Regions from separate parts of the Homo sapiens genome. Here regions 2, 3, 4, 5, 6 and 7 are each linked to region 1. Evidence: promoter capture Hi-C in 16 types of primary human blood cells and fetal thymus (Javierre and others, 2016). All regions are on one chromosome and are shown on one strand. The core of a region is centred on a gene start or on the middle of the fragment in contact, and the rest is flanking DNA. Distances in the headings are between cores, read along the strand shown.

Evidence for each region. The method cuts DNA at HindIII sites, captures the fragments that hold promoters and counts their contacts. A CHiCAGO score of 5 or more calls a contact.
Region 2: the fragment with the promoter of DENR here is called in contact with the fragment with the promoter of MPHOSPH9 in region 1 in 2 of 17 cell types (M1 macrophages and naive B cells); the score reaches 5.2 in M1 macrophages.
Region 3: the fragment with the promoter of CCDC62 here is called in contact with the fragment with the promoter of MPHOSPH9 in region 1 in 3 of 17 cell types (naive B cells, naive CD4 T cells and M2 macrophages); the score reaches 6.4 in naive B cells.
Region 4: a contact is called between a fragment that was not itself captured here and the fragment with the promoter of MPHOSPH9 in region 1, in 2 of 17 cell types (M2 macrophages and endothelial precursors). The highest score is 5.8, in M2 macrophages.
Region 5: a contact is called between a fragment that was not itself captured here and the fragment with the promoter of MPHOSPH9 in region 1, in 1 of 17 cell types (endothelial precursors). The highest score is 6.0, in endothelial precursors.
Region 6: a fragment that was not itself captured here is called in contact with the fragment with the promoter of MPHOSPH9 in region 1 in 1 of 17 cell types (naive CD4 T cells); the score reaches 5.0 in naive CD4 T cells.
Region 7: a fragment that was not itself captured here is called in contact with the fragment with the promoter of MPHOSPH9 in region 1 in 11 of 17 cell types (erythroblasts, megakaryocytes, naive CD4 T cells and 8 more); the score reaches 9.5 in erythroblasts.

Annotation. Positions count from the first base shown.
Region 1 is chr12:123,231,819-123,234,516 of GRCh38, reverse strand. It overlaps MPHOSPH9 (M-phase phosphoprotein 9), which reads left to right and starts at 1,376. Exons shown (of 24, transcript NM_022782.4): 1 at 1,376-1,442. MTRFR (mitochondrial translation release factor in rescue) reads right to left here and starts at 1,081. Exons shown (of 3, transcript NM_152269.5): 1 at 986-1,081. RefSeq lists an enhancer at 1,364-1,603. The HindIII fragment of the contact is 1,460 bases long and covers 1,158-2,617 here.
Region 2 is chr12:122,751,482-122,754,179 of GRCh38, reverse strand. It overlaps DENR (density regulated re-initiation and release factor), which reads right to left and starts at 1,356. Exons shown (of 8, transcript NM_003677.5): 1 at 1,230-1,356; 2 at 373-487. The coding sequence starts at 478. RefSeq lists enhancers at 848-907, 1,999-2,698 and a silencer at 1,048-1,097. The HindIII fragment of the contact is 18,243 bases long and covers 297-2,698 here.
Region 3 is chr12:122,773,197-122,775,894 of GRCh38, reverse strand. CCDC62 (coiled-coil domain containing 62) reads right to left here and starts at 1,323. Exons shown (of 13, transcript NM_201435.5): 1 at 1,189-1,323. The coding sequence starts at 1,224. RefSeq lists silencers at 459-753, 1,276-1,485 and enhancers at 956-1,095, 483-1,176. The HindIII fragment of the contact is 6,061 bases long and covers 1-1,936 here.
Region 4 is chr12:122,826,662-122,829,359 of GRCh38, reverse strand. It overlaps CCDC62 (coiled-coil domain containing 62), which reads right to left. Exons shown (of 13, transcript NM_201435.5): 13 at 1,832-2,698. Among named protein-coding and RNA genes, the nearest start is that of HIP1R, 7.4 kb to the left of the region's middle. The HindIII fragment of the contact is 1,981 bases long and covers 345-2,325 here.
Region 5 is chr12:122,848,272-122,850,969 of GRCh38, reverse strand. HIP1R (huntingtin interacting protein 1 related) reads right to left here. Exons shown (of 32, transcript NM_003959.3): 3 at 2,362-2,504; 4 at 2,118-2,174; 5 at 1,015-1,095; 6 at 59-135. Among named protein-coding and RNA genes, the nearest start is that of HIP1R, 14 kb to the right of the region's middle. The HindIII fragment of the contact is 3,405 bases long and covers 1-2,698 here.
Region 6 is chr12:123,608,505-123,611,202 of GRCh38, reverse strand. DDX55 (DEAD-box helicase 55) reads right to left here. Exons shown (of 14, transcript NM_020936.3): 6 at 2,374-2,523; 7 at 1,075-1,264. Among named protein-coding and RNA genes, the nearest start is that of SNORA9B, 6.9 kb to the left of the region's middle. The HindIII fragment of the contact is 3,225 bases long and covers 1-2,698 here.
Region 7 is chr12:123,589,920-123,592,617 of GRCh38, reverse strand. TMED2 (transmembrane p24 trafficking protein 2) reads right to left here. Exons shown (of 4, transcript NM_006815.4): 3 at 2,169-2,276. Among named protein-coding and RNA genes, the nearest start is that of TMED2, 6.7 kb to the right of the region's middle. The HindIII fragment of the contact is 190 bases long and covers 1,249-1,438 here.

The DNA of each region.
Region 1 (2,698 bases), core at 127-2,626:
GGCTGAAGCAGAAGAATCACTTGAACCCGGGAGGCAGAGGTTAAAGTGAGCCGAGATCGCGCCACTGCCCTCCAGCCTGGGTGACAGAGAGAGACCTTGTCCCCCCTACCCCCCTCCCCCACAAAAATAAAAAAAGTAAAAAAAAATTGGTAGGTATACTTAGGAAGCTCCAATGAGATGTAACGCCTCCTGGCAGATCTGTTATTCCAAGGGCAGATCCATTTCCTGGGTTGTGGAGGCCTAAGTGATAGTGCCAGGGAAGTCCCTTTACTGTGAGCCAGAACTCCTGGAGGTAAATCGAGTAGCTGGAAAGACCTTAAAGGTTAACTATGCTGAAGAATGTGGCCTGCACAGTGCGCATGAAATGGGCTGGGGTCCCACGGGGAGGAGAGCGAGTTCCCTTTGGTCCTTCAAAAGTAGGGCTGGGTGGCTTGCGCCTGTGATCCCAGCACTTTGGGAGGCCGAGGAAGGAGGATCGCTTGAGGCCAGGAGTTCGAGATCAGCTTGGGCAACACAGTGAGACCCCCCCACCCCACGTCTATTAAAAAAAAAACGAGTATCTCCGCAAAAGCCTAGCAAGGGCAGTGCTGACCTCTACTACGTGCCAGGCCTGAAACAGCACCTGATGCGTGCTCACAGCTCCATTCCGCTCAGTTTTGTACATGAGGATCCTTCCGTTTCGCCTTGGGCCTCCGTGGAACCGTTATCTCCAGGACGGTAGTCTCTCCTCTCCCCTGCCCTGAGTGCCTGAACAGCCCCAGGGCCGACCCACAGCACCTAGCGTAAACCAGGTCCCGAGAAAACTGAGCTCGGGTGTCACGGCCGGCCCCACCCCACCGCCAGCGCGGCCTCAGGTAAACTGGCTGCGCCACTCGGGGTCGCAAGTCGGGAAAAACCCAGGCGTCCCGGCTCGCAGTCCTCTCTCCGGAGCCTTTGACAGTCGTCGGCAGCCGTAGGGTTACCTGGCTTCTCCGCAGATGCTTACCTGGTCTCAGGACCCGACTCGTGCCCTCAACGTTCTAGGGATATCCAAATCACCTCAGCGGAGGATTCGCAATCGCGATCCCTGATCTGCGCACGCGCCGTACTCCGATCGCGGTTTCTCTTATCTACCAGAGGCTCATGTTTACTCACTGCGCATGCGAGAAACTGAAGCTTCTTTCCCTCGTGGCAGCGGCTGGCTCCCAGAGAGCCAATCAGAGAAGAGAGTTTCACAGCAATCCCGCCCCCTTGTCACTCCCCCGGGGTTGGATGTCTCTCTTTGGTTGGAGCTGCGCGAGGGGGAACGGCGAGGTGGACGCGCGCGCCATGCGAGGCTGTCTCCGCCTCCTTCCGGGCAGCCAATCACTGGAGAGACGCCGGGCGCGCGCGCGCTCCCTCGGGTAACGGTCGCGAGAGGCCGCTTGCATGACCCTGACATCGGCAGCGGGAGCGGCGGCCAGGTAAGCGGCCACCAGCCTGCAGGGAGCTGTAGGCCGCTGGGGACAGGAGACGAGACTTAGGAGACACTGTCTTAGCGGCCCCTTGAGTGTGGTGATGGGCTGGGGTGTGGGGTGACGGCTGCCGATTGGCCTGACCCCCTCGGAGCCCTTCGGCGTGTGGGAGCTCTGCCCGGCCGCGGTGCGCCTTTTCTAGACTCGGCGCCCTTGAGTGACACTCGCGCGGCCCAATCGCAGATCGCTCTTCCTGAGGGGCGGGGGGTTTGTGGGGTTTTTTTAATTTTTCCCCCCATTTTTTGCCAAGGTGCCCCGGTTTCCTTTTGGAATCGCGGTTGTAGTTGCAGGAGCGGTGGCTTTTCTCCGTCCTCCCTGCTTTCCGTAGCTTAGGCGACTGCATAGATTCTCCCTCTCCTTCCCACTTTGACCCGATAGCCGCCACCAGCCATTGCGGGCTGACTGTGAGCTCAGAATGTCGGGATCTGGCCTCATCCCCATCTGAAATCTCTTCCTCTCCCCCAAGCCTCCCGTCAAGGCGGAGCGCCCAGTTAACTTTCATGTTTCATAACCATCAATCGTTCCTTTTCCCCAGCTCCCTTTTTTTGCTAGGGGGTAGGGACACCAAAAGCGTCATATCTTGTTGCTGGGAAATATAAAAGCTCTGCTCTTATATTCATTCTGTATCAAGTTAAAAAAATTTTTTTTTGCATTGTATTTGTGGGTGTTTAAGGATTTTTCCCTCTTACTTCCCTGCCCTCCCCCCAGCACCTCCACCCCAAATGGAGAAGCATCTTTGAATTTCTAGTGGTTTTCCATCTGGATCTGCATCCGGATCCGGATTACCTTAGCAGGGGAAATAATAGATGGGGTTGCAGGTTCATCTCCCTGGAGAGCTTGTGTTTTCCTGGTGTAATAGCATGGTGATTGGAATCCAGGTATTTCTGTTGCCAGTTGGAAGGGGCAGTCCTTGACTGTTTCAATGCCCCATTTGTCGTGGGTGATGGGCTGAGCCACTGGGGAAAAGTCCATTTAGTTAGGTCCGGTTACCCTTTGCATTCACTCCTGTCCCTGAAGGAAATGGTCCCTGTTTTTGTGTAATGCTTTATAAAAGCAGGCCCTAGAAAGTGGGAATCTAGCAGAAGCGGAATACTAGATAATATTCCTGTTGCACTCTCTAAGCTTTTCAGTTTGTAAGCAGCTGAAGTTTTCTTTCTTTCTCCTTTTTCCTCTTGCTCCCTTGCTCTTTTATAAGTGCATGAATT
Region 2 (2,698 bases), core at 107-2,606, 480 kb after region 1:
TGCGCTTTGTCTGGGACGCCGTTCCCCACCTTCTCATCCAGTCCTTGCCATCCTTAACTCATAATCTTCCAAGAAGCCCTCCTTTGACAGCTAGACTAGCATACACCTTGAGGACCTTCAGGCTGAAATAACCTAGTTGCACATCCTGTTACAAATGGACTGTAAGCTTCTTCAGGCAGAGTAGCCAGACACAAATCACCCAGGTGGGGAAACTCTGTTAATTCATGCCTCCTCCTCCCCAGGACTCCTCTCCCCCAGTACAAACTCACCAAATGAAAAGGATGGGGAAGAAAGCTTACCAAATGTCAAACTGTTATTACAATGCATAAAAGTATAGTGAGTAAAAGTCATTCTGTGGCTACCAACACTTGCCTCCACAATAAAGGACTCGAAGTGGGTAATCGGCATCTAACTTGGCACTGTTCCTTGGGTCTCCTTTGCAGTCAGCCCCGCTGGATTCAGAAATGTCAGCAGCCATTTCACAAACCTGTAAGCAAGGAAAATAACACACCCTCACTATTTTAGAATCAAGACCCCAGAAGAGCAGTGTTCCTCTCAACAGAAACCTCCCCACCCCAAAGCTGTTTCAAGTCTGTTGTTGAGTGGGGGATACAAGCTGCATTCGATTCATAAAATATGAGCAATCCCAGGCACAACATCTCCTTGCTCCACAGGTCTACAGGGAAGCAAGCAGCAAATGGACCATGAAGGATGGGGCAGAGGGACTCACTAGAGAAAAACAGGAAGCAATGGGGAAGGAAAGATGGGGTGAGTACCCACGGCAGACACGGAGCAAAAAGGTCTGAGGGTGATCTGGGAGGGATGCAAACTGCAGTGAGAGAAGGGCTACAAAGGCGCCGAATGGAGAGAGGCTGGAAGTGCCTAGGAACAAGGGGTGGGTCATCGGAGAAGCCCGGGGTGCAGGGTGTGGGGGCAACTAAACGCCATGAGAGGGGCCTGGGGAGTCTAAAAAGGGCATGGGAGGGGGCGGGGTAACCAGAGCGTAAGAAGGATGAGGAGAGAAAACGAGCGCAGAATGTAAGAGCACTGAGGGGACAAGGGCGACCAGGTCTGAGGCGAAGGAGCAACCCCGGGGACGCCAGAAGGGGCCCTTGTGGGCGGGGGTGTGGAGAGGCCCGGCCCGGCCCCCTTCCGCCAGGCAGCATCTCAGCTTCCCCCACACTCTCTACGAGCTTCTCGGGAGCGGGAGAAGCACTTGGGGTCGTTACCCAGGCGGTCGCACAGGCCCCGCCGGCTCCGCTCCCGCCGCTATCGCCAGCTGAACCAACACATGCAACTCGTCTCCCCGGCCAGGGCCGCCCGAGCGCCCGACCGCCAGCAGCGCTCCCGCGAGACAATGAGCCTTTATCGCGAGATTCCGGCCGCCGCTGGGCGGATGTCGCGAGAAGCCGGAAGACGGGGGCGGAGAAAAATTGCGGAGCGTGCGCCTTGCCCTCCGGTGGGGGGCGTGGCCAAGAGGCCGAGAGGCGGGCCGCCGGCAGGCGGTGCTCGTCACCCGTTGGAGAGGATGAATCCTCGAGATGGGCGTGCCGAAGGGAACGTGACTTGCAGACGCAGAGAGCGCACCTGAGTCACAAATGACTCCCTATTAATGAGTCCGAGGATCATCGCCTCGGTGTCTGCGGTGCATCCTGGAGTCCTGACTAACCTCCAGCTACTGCATAAATCACTCCCGTGCGGGGAGATTGCAGCCGGATAGAGCGTTTGGTCGCATTTTAACACCATGCACTGAATTAAAGGAAGGTGTTCTCCCTCCCTCCCTCCCTCCCTTCCTTCTTTCCTTCCTCTCTTCTTTTCTCTCTCTCTTCGCCGGATGGAGCGTTTGGTTGCGTTTTAACACCATACACTAAATTAAAGGAATTCTTTTTTCTTTCTTTTCTGTTCTTTCTTTTCTTTCTTCTTTCTCTTCTTTCTGTCTCTTTCTTCCCCTTCCCTCCCTCCCTCCCTTCCTTCCTTCTTTCCTTCCTTCCTCCCTCCCTTCCTTCCTTCCTCCCTCCCTTCCTTCATCCTTTTCTTTATGTTTTGACAGGGTCTCACTCTGTCACCTAGGCTGGATGGAGTGCAGTTGCACAAACACGGTTCACTGCAGCCTCGACCTCCCAAGTAGTTGGGAATACAGGCGCGCGTTACCACACCCAGCTAATTTTTAATTTGTTTATAGAGGTGGGGGAATCTCCCTATGCTGTCCAGGCTGGTCTCGAACTCCCGGACTCAAGGGATCCTCCCGCCTCCGCCTCCCAAAGTGCTGGGATTACAGGCGTGAGCCACCGCGCCCGGCCTACAATTTTTTTTAATGAAAAAAAGAAAAATGTAAGAGTATGGGAATATATGGGGAAAAGAAAGATCAGATTGTTACTGTGTCTGTGTAGAAAGAAGTAGACATAAGAGACTCCATTTTGTTCTGTGCTAAGAAAAATTCTTCTGCCTTGAGATGCTGTTAATCTGTAACCCTACCACCAACCCTGTGCTTCCTGAGACCTGTGCTGTGTCAACTGAGGGTTAAATGGATTAAGGGCTGTGCAGGATGTGCTTTGTTAAACAAATGCTTGAAGGCAGCATGCGCCTTAAGAATCATCACCACTCCCTAATCTCAAGTACCCAGAGACACAATACACTGCAGAAGGCCGCAGGGACCTCTTCCTAGGAAAGCCAGGTATTGTCCAAGGTTTCTCCTCAT
Region 3 (2,698 bases), core at 74-2,573, 460 kb after region 1:
ACGCCTGTAATCCCAGCACTTTGGAAGGCCGAGGTGGGCAGATCACCTGAGGTCGGGAGTTCGAGACCAGCCTGGCCAACATGGCGAAACCCTGTCTCTACTAAAAACACAAAAATTAGCTCGGCATGGTGGTGGGAGCCTGTAGTCCCAGCTATTTGGGAGGCTGAGGCGGGAGGATTGCTTGAACTCGGGAAGCAGAGGCTGCAGTAAGCCGACATTGCGTCACTGTACTCCAGCCCTGGGGACAGAGCCAGACCCTGTCTCAAAAATAAATAAATAAGAATGATGAATAAATTACAGTTGCTAGTCTTAACAAGGAAAATGGAATTTGGAGTCAAGGGATTTCAAGTCCCAAGGCTTGAATTCCAGTGTTGGGTTAGCCCTTCATTCATGCACTCAACAAATAATTTATTGAGCGCCAGTGGCTGGGCCACAGACCTCCAGGCAAGGAGCACATATTCCACTCCAGGAAAACAGGCAGTAAGCCGAGTACACAAAGGCAGGTCGTCTTACACTGATGGACGCGAACCTTGGGCAAGCCCACTTCCAGACTTTTTGGTACAGTGGAGTTGTGAGAGCTCCTTCCTCTACTCGCCAGGTTGTGTAAATTAAGGACACCCTGAGAGGTAAATGGGAAAGCAGCTCCCCAGACGCCAATCGTCCTCCTTAAACAGTAAGCACCGGGTACGCGCTACTCTGTGGCCCGGGCTGAATAACAAGGTGTTATTGGGTTAAGGAAACGGTCGTGACGCCGTTTTCCTCTAGTGTATTGTTTCACTTTTTTTTTTTTTTTTTTTTTTTGAGACGGAGTCTCGCTCTGTCGCCCAGGCTGGAGTGCAGTGGCGCGATCTCGGCTCACTGCAAGCTCTGCCTCCCGGGTTCACGCCATTCTCCTGCCTCAGCCTCCCGAGTAGCTGGGATTACAGGCGCCCGCCGCCACGCCCGGCTAATTTTTTTTTTTTTATTTTTAGTAGAGACGGGGTTTCACTGTGTTAGCCAGGATGGTCTCGATCTCCTGACCTCGTGATCCGCCCGCCTCCGCCTCCCAAAGCGCTGGGATTACAGGCGTGAGCCACCGCGCCCGGCCTGTTTCACATTTTAAGTAGACACCGTTCTTGAGAAGCAATAGATTTCGACCAATGTGCACCGTTCCCGCGGCGCCCCGCCGCGCCCGGAACCGCTGCTTACCTGGCGCCCGGCAAGGAAGGCTGCCGGAGGGTTCATAGGTGTTTCCTCCGCCCCCGGAGAAGCCCGGTGTGGGCGGCGTCACCTCAGAAACGCCATCGGCGCGCCTGCCCCGAGCGGCGGGGGCGAGCCCGGAGCCCCGGGGCCCCGCGCCCTCGGCCGACCCCCGCCCCGTACTCCAACCGCCTGCCTGGTGCCCACGCGGCGTGCGCCCGCCGGGGCTCGGGGCTCCCCGCCAGGGTTTCCGGGCCGCAGCCCCGCTGCGCTGGTGGGCACTGTTCTTCTGCCTCGGAAACTGGGGGCTCCCAAGTGGCTCAGGCTGCGTATGGACGCTTTTTGCCCACGCCCGAGGCTCCGGCGCTGGAAGGCCTGAAAGAACCGGCTGTTCACCACTACCCAGAGAATGAAGAAGTCAATAAAGGCTGCTGCGCCGCCCCCAGCACTCTGGTTTATGACATTTGAGTTGCTCACTTCCCTATCTTCCATCTTCCCCCTAATAACCGTGAGCTCGGCCGTGCTCGCTCCTGTGTAGCTGGCTCCCAGAACAGGACCTGACACTCGAATGCGTGGAGGCAGAGCCCAGCCCTCGGGGATAACAGTTGCGGGCTACCCTAGCACCTTTGATACTTTAAACCAAGAATCACAGATGAAGAGGGGGAAATTTACTCTTGGGAGCTCCTGAAAAGCAATGAGGAGAACCACGGTACTTTGTCATGACAAAATCTACGATATTCTGGGTTGAATCTAAGCTTTTTCACCTGTTCTTCCATAGTCACCTCTTCATCCCCCTTTCACTCTTCCTAAGATGTGGGAACGGGACTAGGAAAAAATAAGGCTTATCACACTTCAGCCCCGGCTGCCCATCCCTGAATGCTTAACCCATCAGACAGCAACACAATTACTAAATACGGTCGGTCTTACAGGGTTTCAACTTTACTTTTTGGTTGAATATGAAATGCCAAAACATGCCCTTGTGTTCAAAAAATACAATCTGAAAATGGAAAAACAAAATTAAGATTTCTTATTTTGAAGCTTTACTGATAGGCTCATGTTTGGGAGACCAAAGCAATGTCTTAGAATTTAAAATCAAGAAAGCTGGGCGCAGTGGCCTGTAACCCCAGCACTTTGGGAGGCCAATGTAGGAGGATCTGTTGCGTTCAGGAGTTTGAGACCAGCCTGAGCAACATGGTGACACCCACCTCTAAAAAACTTTTTTTTTTTTTTTTTTTGAGATGGAGTCTGGCTCTTGTTGCCTGAGCTGGAGTGCAATGGCACAATCTCGGCTCACTGCAAACTCTGCCTCTGGCCTCAAGCAAATCTCCTGCCTCAGCCTCCCGAGTAGCTGGGATTACAGGTGCCCGCCACCACGCCACCTTTGTTGTATTTTTAGTAGAGATGGGTTTCACTACCTTGGCCAGGCTGGTCGCGAACTCCTGACCTCAGTTGACCCACCCACTTCAGCCTCCCAAAGTGCTGGGATTACAGGTGTGAGCTACCGCACCTGGCCAAAAAA
Region 4 (2,698 bases), core at 86-2,585, 410 kb after region 1:
ACAGTGAGCTATGATGATACCACTGCCCTCCAGGCTGGGTGACAGAGTGAGACCCTGTCACTAAAAATAAAATTAAAAAAAAAATCCATTCACAGATTCTAAAAATACCCTTATATCAGTCTTTTCCAATGCTGAGATTACTTCTGGCAGGCAGATTGTAGTATAATTCATTTGCCTCCTCTTCAGATGTGTTGATCTTAAGAATGTTGCTGATAAGACATAAATGCTAAAATCTAGTTTTATCTTGTAACTATTTCAAATACTCTATGAGACTGCCTCTGTGCATCCATTAAAGTATAGAAAAAAAAAGGAGACTGCCTCTCTAACAGAAATTGCTCAAAGCTTAGGTCAGGGGTATCTGCACTCCACGTTCACTGCAGCACTGCTCACAACAGCCAAGATGTGGAAGCAACCTAAATGCCCATCAACAGATGAGTGGATAAAGAAATGTGGTGGCTCACGCCTGTAATCCCAGCACTTTGGGAGGCTGAGTTGGGAGGATCACATTAGGCCAGGAGTTCAACACCAGCCTGGCCAACATGACGAAACCCCGTCTCTACTAAAAAAACAAAAAGTTAGCCAGGAGTGGTGGTGGGCACCTGTAATCCTAGCTTCTCAGGAGACTGAGGCAGGAGAATTGCTTGAACTCGGGAGGTGGAGGTTGCAGTGAGCTGGAATTGAGCCACTGCACTCCAGCCTGGGCAACAGAGTGAGACTCGGTCTCAAAAAAAAAAAAGTAGTATATATATACATAATGGAATACTATTTAGCCATAAAAACAAACGAAATCCTGTCATTTAAATGACTCAGTTTGGGCCAGGTGCAGTGGCTTACATCTGTAATCCCAGCACTTTGGGAGGCCGAGAAGGTGGATCACAAGGTCAGAAGTTCAAGACCAGCCTTGCCAATATGGTGAAACCCCGTCTCTACTAAAAATACAAAATTTAGCTGGGCATGGTGGCGCACACCTGTAGTCCCAGCTACTCGGGAGGCTGAGGCAGGAGAATCACTTGAACCTGAAAGGCGGAGGTTGCAGTGAGCTGAGATCACGCCACTGCACTCCAGCCTGGGCGACAGAGAGAGACTCTGTCTCAAAAAAATAAATAAATAAATAAATAAATAAATAAATAACTTCGGTTGAGCTAGATGCATTGCTAACATTAAATTTCTCATTCTTTTTTTTTTTTTTTTTTTTTTTTTGAGACGGGACCTCACTCTGTCACCCAAGCTGGAGTGCAGTGGTACGATCTTGGCTCATTGCAACCTCCACCTCCTGGGTTCAAGCAATTCTCCTGCCTCAGCCTCCCAAGTAGCTGGGATTACAGGCGCGTGACACCATGCCCAGCTAATTTTTTGTATTTTTAGTAGAGAGGGGGTTTTGTCATGTTGGCCAGGCTGGTCTCGAACCTCTGATCTCAAGTGATCCACCTGCCTTAGGCTCCCAAAGTGCTGGAATTACAGGCATAAGCCGCCACACCCAGCTGAAATTTCTCATTGTTGGATTGCATATGGAACGATAAGCTGGTGGGATACAATAGGTGTCAGGTGTCGTAGGTACTATAATCCTATGAGCTAAAATACATTTAGCCATAAAATAATGTTTAATTGTTATCAAATCCTTTAGTTCCCTGACATGTTCCTATTTAGCATCTATTCAGTGTTGCCTTTTCACTAGGCAAGTTGATGTGCAGTCATGAACATGAAAAGGAGGAGAAAATTTAATATTTTGATTCTTAGATAGGAAGTCACGCTCCCCAAGGGTCATTTTAGGTTTCTACTTGGCAGGCAGCAGCTCAGAAGCAACTATACCTTTCTCCGTTTTGCTCTAGACAGCCCAGCCTGAGGGAGAAAGCACGCATTGATAAAGAACATAACCAAACCTCACCCAACTTCTCTTTTCAGCACCCTAATTAAAAAGGCTAAATGAGGTGGCTCTTCCCCGCTCATGAAAATCATCTCTGAAGTAACACTGAGACCTGTTAACAAAGGGGCATTTATTCAGCACAATAGAACTTTGATATCTGCAATGCTTAAAAAAATACATCCCCATTCCTGAGGAAATTAACTTGCCAGGTTCAGTTTAAAGTGATGAACGTTCCTTCCTTATTTTACTCCTGTAAAATAAAAAGAAACCAAGGAAACATATTTTTTCTTTAATATTAAAAATATCTTTTATGGACTGAAGTTGATCTATTCTTTTAGAGAAGACACAGAGGCATATAGTATAATCTTTAAAAAATTAAATTACTTTACAAGTTAAAATGGAAGTGTTTTAGTCTTTAAGATTTTTAAAAATGCGTCTAAAACTCGATCTTCCAGCAAGCTTTTGTTTGTGTCAGTAGGTGGGACTAATATAGACCCAGAAAGATGGGGCTCTGCTCAGCTTGGGACAGAAGGACCTCGAGCTATTTTCCAGTTACATTTTATATTTTATATCAAAGCACCTTATGTCTATTTACACAGCAAAGTCAAAAGCTAAAACCATGAGAGAATACTGTTTCTCATATATTTTGAGCTGACTCTGATAAGCTATTGTTTAGAATTTAAATGTATGCACAGATTTTTTAAAAATCAGATAGTTAAAACAGCACTTTCTATGCAGGGTTCTTTCTCTATTTGACATTCACATTTTTAAAGAGCTTCTCTAGCATTTAACTGTAGTCCGTATCTTTACAGAGAAGTCTTTTTCATTCTTAGC
Region 5 (2,698 bases), core at 141-2,640, 380 kb after region 1:
TAGGAAGGAATGGGGAAGCCGAGGGGAACTGGCTATGTAGCCATGCAGAGTGACTCACATGTTGTTGACATCGGTCCCAGCTGCCTTCTCCAGTACCTCATCTGTCACCTCCAGGCCCGCGGGAAACTGGGGATGCTGTGGAGAGAACCCCCACCCAGCGGCCACTGAACCAGGGCCCCCCCACACCTGGCGGCCACCGAACCAGGGCTCCCCCCCACCCAGCGGCCACTGAACCAGGGCCCCCCACACCCAGCGGCCACCGAACCAGGGCCCCCCAACCCAGCGGCCACCGAACCAGGGGGCCCCCCCACCCAGCGGCCACCGAACCAGGGCCCCCCCCACCCAGTGGCCACCGAACCAGGGCCCCCCCCACCCAGCGGCCACCGAACCAGGGCCCCCCCACCCAGCAGCCACCGAACCAGGGGGCCCCCCCACCCAGCGGCCACCGAACCAGGGCCCCCCCCACCCAGCGGCCACCGAACCAGGGCCCCCCCCACCCAGCGGCCACCGAACCAGGGCCCCCCCACCCAGCAGCCACCGAACCAGGGGGCCCCCCAACCCAGCGGCCACCGAACCAGGGCCCCCCCCACCCAGCGGCCACTGAACCAGGGCCCCCCCAACCCAGCGGCCACTGAACCAGGGGGCCCCACGCTGGACCCTGCTCTTGGCAGACCCAGGCTGTGGCCCACATAGGTGGCAGAGGGCAGTGGAGGGGTTGGGAGGAGGGGAGCACCCGGCCAGCACAGCAGAGACTGAGGAAGCCCAGCGCTCATGTCCACAGAAACGCCTGGGGAAGCCCGTGCCCACGTCCACGGAAATGCCTGAAGTGTTCTAGGAGCTTCGTGATGCCCTGGCTTCCCCGTCTCCCCTTTAGTCATAGTTGGGACAAGAAGGTGAATGGAAAGACTCATGGAGAGGACAGATCCCACCCTCGATGTCCCAACATGTGCCATAACGTCACAGTGGGAAAAGCCCACGGGTCCCTCAGCCCCATGACTCCCCCGAGGAAACCACCTTGAGGTGGAAGGAGATCTTGGTCAGCAGCAGCTTGGTGTAGACATTCACCAGCTGTCCGTAGCGGTCATGCAAATGTCCCTGTGTGAAGACAGACAGGGTGAGGGGCCACGGCTCGTGAACACGTCCAAGAGTCCTCAAGGACCTGGGCACGAGAGTGACCCACCACCGGGCACTTCTTCATTCAACAAACGTCTTCTCCTGGCCTCCACCAACCACCCTCTCTGTCTCTAGCTTTTTCCCTTAATCTTCCTCCTTGTCATTCCTGCCAAAGAAACTCTTGTGAGAAGAGAGCTCTTTGTCCAGGGCGGCAGGCCAGTTCTGAGCAGGGACGCTTTATTAAAGTGCTGGTGCTGGCAGGGAGGCACGTCCCGACGGGCGCCTGGACACATCCTCCCTGCTCCCTCCTCCAGCCCCACGGCCCCTGCGGCCGGGCCAGCTGGGCCTGCATCTGCAGGTGGCACCATGGGCAGTGTTTTCCTCGCTTCAAGGGAAGTGAGTCCGGGCAGTGGTTCTGGGTTGGATAACGCCCTGGTCAGGCCTCCCTGTGGGTACCCGGTCCAGGGCCTGCCCTGCTCCTATGTCCCTGCCCAGGCAGACGAGCACCCCACAGTGCTCCAGAGAGAACCAGGCCAAGGCCCTCTGCCCACCAGGGACATCTCTAACTCCTGAGGTCTTGCAGTGCATCCAGATTGCAGGCCCCCCAGGGCTCTCAGGCCTTACTGTGTGTGTGCTCAAAATGCAGACCTCCAGTCCTGATTCTTCAGCAGCAGGTCTGGGGGAGCCCAGGAACCTGCGCCCTGCCACAGGCTCTCTAACCACCGAGGTGCCCGGGCTGTGGTCTTGCCACATTTCCCAACTCGTGAGGACTAAAGGGCCCGGGTGACTTCGACGCTGGAGGGCCCACTGGTTATGCGTGTGGAGCGCCCTGGGCCAGGCCCTCAAAGGCAGGCAGCATCTCCCCGTGCTGCCCCTCCCACTGTCGCCCCTGGGAAAACCCAGCCACCCGCAGGGAACTGCCCACAGGGAGCCACCCTTCGCTCAGCCCCACACGCTCAGGAAAGCCCCGAATGCCAGGCAGGACCTAGAATGGCTGGACCTACCCACAGGTCTCCAATCTCCCGGATGTTGCTGCGGTACCGCTGGCAGTCATGCAGCACCTGCAGCGCAGGGAATACGGGAGTGGGGGAGTGTCCAGGACCGTGTGGCAGGGCCCTGAGACACGCACTCCCCACCCGAGGCGGGAGGAACAGCCCGGAGCTACGGGGACAGGAACAGGGCCAGAGCCCGCATGTCCGCGGGACAGTGCCCCAGCTCCGGGGAGCAGAGGCAGCAGCTGCTACTCACATTGGGGTGCCCGTCTCGAAGGACCTTGTGGAGGACGTGGCAGAACTTCCAGCTGAGAATGGAGCTGCTGGGCAGCGGCAGCCCAATGGCGTAGGACCAGAAGGTGAAAGCCCCCTTCTCGTGGTGTGTGCCCAGAATGATGCCTGCAATGTCAAGGCCAAGTGTGGAAGCAGAGACTGGAGCACGGGGGCTCAGCAAACCCGGCTGAGAGAGGCCAGGGCCGCCGGAAGAGGGCCGGCCCCCAATCACGTGCCCATCAACCCCGGGTCACCAGAGCTCCAGTGTCCAGCCAAGGGGACAGGAGTTAGGGCAAGACAAGGAAATCATTGGGCCCAAT
Region 6 (2,698 bases), core at 77-2,576, 380 kb before region 1:
TTTGGGCCAGGCATGATGGCTCATTCTTGTAATCCCAGCACTTTGGGAGGCTGAGGCAGGAGGATCATGAGGTCAGGAGTTCAAGACCAGCCTGTCCAATGTGGTGAAACCCCACCTCTACTAAAGATACAAAAAATTAGCTGGGCATGGTGGCACATGCCTGTAATCCCAGCTACTCGGGAGACTGAGGCAGAAGAATTGCTTGAACCAGGAGGCAGAGGTTGCAGTGAGCCGAGATCGTGCCATTGCACTCCAGCCTGGGTGACAGGGTGAGACCCCGTCTCAAAACAAAAAAAAACAAACAAAAAAAAACGGCCGGGCGCGGTGGCTCACACCTGTAATCCCAGCACTTTGGGAGGCCGAGGCAGGTGGATCACCAGGTCAGGAGATGGAGACCATCCTGGCTAACAGGGCTAACAAAAAATTAGCCGGGCGTGGTGGCGGGCGCCTGTAGTCCCAGCTATTCGGGAGGCTGAGGCAGGAGAATGGCATGAACCCAGGAGGCGGAGCTTGCAGTGAGCTGAGATCGCGCCACTGCACTCCAGCCTGGGCGACAGAGCCAGACTCTGTCTCAAAAAAAAAAAAAAAAAAAAAAAAGAAACTCAGCATATTTGATGCAGGTCAAAAATACACAACATTTACGGAGCAGAACATTTCCACCCCACAAAGTCTCCTTAGGAGTGAGTCTGTCATTTGATTTTCTGTGTTCCACCTGCACATCTAACTATGCCCTTCTCTGTCAGACAGGCTGTTCTGACGGGCCCAGGAACTACAGAGCTTAGTCATGGCTGCACCCAGCACACCCCAAGCATGTACAATAGAAACATTTGGTCACTTGAGGGTAGGAGGTTCAGAGACTCTGTCCTTAGAGACTGTGCTTAAAATACATTTATGTCCAATTTAACTTATTCATTCAATGAGTAGGACCACTCAGGCCATTTGCCCTAGCTAGCTCTGTCCCCAAATGCATTTCATAGGTGCTACAGGGTCTCACATATTTATTCTACCAGTACAATTTCCATAAAATGAGCACTGGTCATTATCGCTGAGTAAGAAGCAAGCCCAGGCGCTTACCATGTAGTAGTTTTCCAGGCGGGAGGGGGTCTTCTGGGCACTGCTGGCTGCCACGCCCTTCTCCTTCACTGAGACCCGGACAGGGTTCCGGAGGCCCGCTCTCACCAGGTTCTCCACTTCCTGCGTCTGAGTGGCAGAGAAAAGGCCTGTTCTCCTCTGCTTTGGCAAAAACTCCAGAATGGTGTTGATGCTGATAAAAAGAGGGCTCACACTTAACCGCTCACTTGCCAGCAGAATCAACACACAGTGCTTCACGATACTAAACAGGTATTCAAAAAGACTGAAAGTGAAGCCATCAAAATATTTATAGCACATACACTGGGAGGTGAGATTATAGGTGATTCTTTGTTTCTTCTTTATACTTTCATTTTTCCAAGGTTCCTCAAATTTTAGCATACAATTATAATGATATGTGAATTATATCCCATAAAGCTGTTTATTAAAAAACAACAAAACTGCCAGGTGTGATGGCTCATGCTTGTAATCCCAGCACTTCGGGAGACTGGGATGGGAAGATCTCTTGAGCCCAGGAGTTTGAGACCAACCTGGGCAACATAATGGGATCTTGTCTCTGCCAAAAATTAAAAAAAAAAAGCATGATGGCATGTGCCTGTAGTCCCAGATGACTCAGGAGGCTGAGGTGGGAGGATCACTTAAGCCCAGGAAGTAAAGGTCGCAATGACCCGAAATCATGCCACTGCATTCTAGCCTGGATGACAGAGTGAGACCCTGTCTCAAAAAAAAAAAAAAAAAAAAAACTTGAAGGAAAGTGCATTTTAAGATCAAAGATAGAACTGGAATAAAATCACGTGGTAGAATTTGAAAGCTCAAACTACTTAATGATTTGAAATTAAAATGTGGTTAATAAAAATACTTAGGCCAGGCATGGTGGCTGGCACCTGTAATCCTAGCACTTTGGGTACCCTAGGTAGGAGGATCACTTAAGTCCAGGAGTTTGAGAACAGACTGGGCAACATGGCAAAACCTCATCTGCAAAAAATAAAAAAACCATCCAGGCATGGTGGTGTGCACCTGTAATCCCAGCTACCCGGGAGGCTGATGCAGGAGGATCATCTGAGCCCGAGAGGTTGAGGCTGCAGTGAACATAATCACACCACTGCACTCCAGCCTGGGTGACAGCACAAGACCCTGTCTCTAATAAACAAATAAATAAAAAATAAATAAAAATGAAAATAAAAAATAAAAATACCTAGTCATGAAACAGTAAACTCCATTTTGCTCCCCTTTTGTATTAGTATCATCTGCCCACTCAAGCCAGTGAAGTCCAAAGTCCAGTACCTTGCCTCAAACCCCATGTCCAGAAGTCTGTCTGCCTCATCCAACACCAGGACATCCAGGGATCGCACACAGCTGGCCAGATCCAAGCCTTCGGCCTTCCTCCGGAACATGTCCTCCAAGCGGCCTGGAGTGGCCACAATGATGTTCCCACTTTGGAAAGAAAGTTAACATTTACCAAACTCTCTGGATCTTGGGAATGTGGTTGATGATTACCAAAATACCAAGTTTTATATCCCCCCAAAGTCATTTAAGCCCTAGTGAAGAGAACGAAGAGCATGAGAGTAGAAGAGTGCTGCAGGGTAGAAAGACTGAGGGCTGTGGTGAG
Region 7 (2,698 bases), core at 94-2,593, 360 kb before region 1:
ATGGGAACCATTTGCTTTGTAAATTTAAACTGAATGCCTATAAACTCAATTCTAGAAATTGCTAACACTTTTAAATATGAACACATAGCTCACTATTTGTGAAACAAATACAGGAGTATCTCCACTCAAATCATGGGTGAGAGAACAAGGTTGGACACCCTAAAGACGGAAGACATGTGCTTCCTCTGGCCACTGTGTTCCCAAGAACTTCTATAACTTGAAAGCCATCTGGTCTGAACCAGTTAAAATTGCAAAGTAGAGGAACTTGCCCTCTGAGTTAGTTCAGTGCCCTTCCAACTCCAGAATGGGCTGTTTCCCCATCTGGGAACAAGGTAAACAACATATGAGTCCCAACAAGATAAGAGAGAAAAAGTGAAGATCCCAGCTGGTGAGATTAAGAGTGGAGGCAAGGAGACAAAATTGTGAGGCAAGAGGCTGGAGTAATTGTAGACAAGCCTTGGTCCATAATATGCCCCACTCCACTCCTAAAACAAGTGGGGATGAGGGGAGTTCTCCAGGCTATTACATTTACACACCTTCCTGCCAACACAAGCTGATGTCTGTGCTCTAGATCCTGAAGATTTGTTTCCATAAGTAGCAAGAACAGATTTAAGGGTAGGAAAAACAGAAAGCACATCTGGAAGAAATTCAAGCTGTGCTTATCTCTTTGAGTCACTCTTCACTTCCTACTCCAGTCTCAGAACAAAGATTCCTGACATAAAATCACTGCCCTTAAGACAAGAGCTTGCTCCCAAGCAATCCCCCGCCTCAGCCTCCTGAGTAGCTGGGACTACAGAGATGCGTCACTATACCTTGCTCTTTTTCCTTTTTTTTTTTCAGACAGAGTCTCGCTCTGTCGCCAGGCCGGAGTGCAATGGCATGATATCAGCTCACTGCAACCTCCGCCTCCGGGGTTCAAGTGATTCTCCTGCCTCAGCCTCCTGAGTAGCTGGGACTACAGGCGCGTGCCACCATGCCCGGCTAATTTTTGTAGTTTTAGTAGAGGTGGGATTTCACCATGTTGGCCAGGATGGTCTCAGTCTCTTGACCTTGTGATCCGCCCACCTCAGCCTCCCAAAGTGCTAGGATTACAGGCGTGAGCCACTGCCCCCAGCCACCTTGCTCTTTTCATCTCCCCAAGAACTACCTGGAGGATGAAAACACTGAACAATGGTGTGGCCCTGAACCTAATCAATGGAATTGGTCTGTCTGTCAATATAGTACCTCTTAATTTTAAATGCAAAAGCTTCATTTTTAATGCTCTATCCAGTTCTAAACAGACTTTTGCAACCTAACACAAGATTTCAATCATCACTGTTTCCACAGCAAAATACATTCCAAATTCCCAACTTACAAACTTGAGGACCCAAACTGATCTTCACCTGGTGACTTCCCTGTACTCATGTTTTGGTGTTTTCTAGTCTAACTATATTAAGCTTTCCATTTTAGTAAAAAGGTTAAATCTCAGCATCTAATATTAATCCCACTGGTACATAAGTTTCAGGTATGTGATTAAAAACCAATGCAATACGCATTTTACAACATTTTTCCCTTCTGATTTAAGAAAACAATTAGCTTATTCCTTAGCTCACCATACATTTTTAAAAACCCAAACTTTTTTTTTTTTTTTTCCCTGAGACAGAGTCTAGCTCCATTGCCCAGGCTGGAGTGCAGTGGCCCAATCTCAGCTCACTGCAACCTCTGCCTCCCGGTTCAAGTGATTCTCATGCCTCAGCCTCCCGAGTAGCTGGGACTATAGGTGCACGCCACCACACCCAGCTAATTTTTTTATTTTTTGTAGAGACGAGGTTTCACCATGTTGGCCAGGCTGGTCTCGAACTCCCAACCTCAGGTGATCCGCCTGCCTCAGCCTCCCAAAGTGCTGGGATTACAGGCGTGAGCCACCATGCCCGGCCAGAAAACTAAACTCTTAAAAACTTGTACTAAATCTTAATAGCATTTTCTAGTTTACAATGAATGTCCCAATAATAAACTACAAAGCTCCACACATGTGTATGCTCAAAAAATATCTCGTGTAGGTACACTTTTAAAGTCAATGCTTTCACATAAAATTTGCAAAGTTTCCAAATGAGGAAAATACGAGCAAGCTGTTGAGTAAAACAACCTTCACCATCAGACACTGCTGCAAAGTGACGGCATTCACTTACTGGCTCTGTGTATTCTCTCCCGGACTTCCATGTATTCCTGTTCGTGCTTTACAGCTGTCATCGCCACTGCTAGCTCATTGATCATTTCTTCTAGCTTGTTCTGGTGAGCTATAGAAGGATTTGAAAACAAAACACATTTGTCAATGTCTTTTTTTTTTTTTTTTTGAGACAGAGTCTCGCTCTGTTGCCCAGGCTGGAGTGCAGTGGTGCTCAATCTCAGCTCACTGCAACCTCTGCCTCCCAGGCTGAAGCGATTCTCCTGCCTCAGCCTCCAGAGTAGCTGGGATTACAGGCACACGCTGCCACACCCAGCTAATTTTTGTATTTTTAGTAGAGACGGGGTTTCACCATGTTGGTCAGGCTGGTCTTGAACTCCTGACCTCAGGTGATCCACCTGCTTGAGCCTCCCAAAATGCTGGAATTACATGCGTGAGCCACTGCACCCAGCCATCTTTTTTTTTTTTCAAGACAGGATCTCACTCTATCACCCAGGCTCAAGTACAGTGGTGCAATTATAGCTCACTGTAACC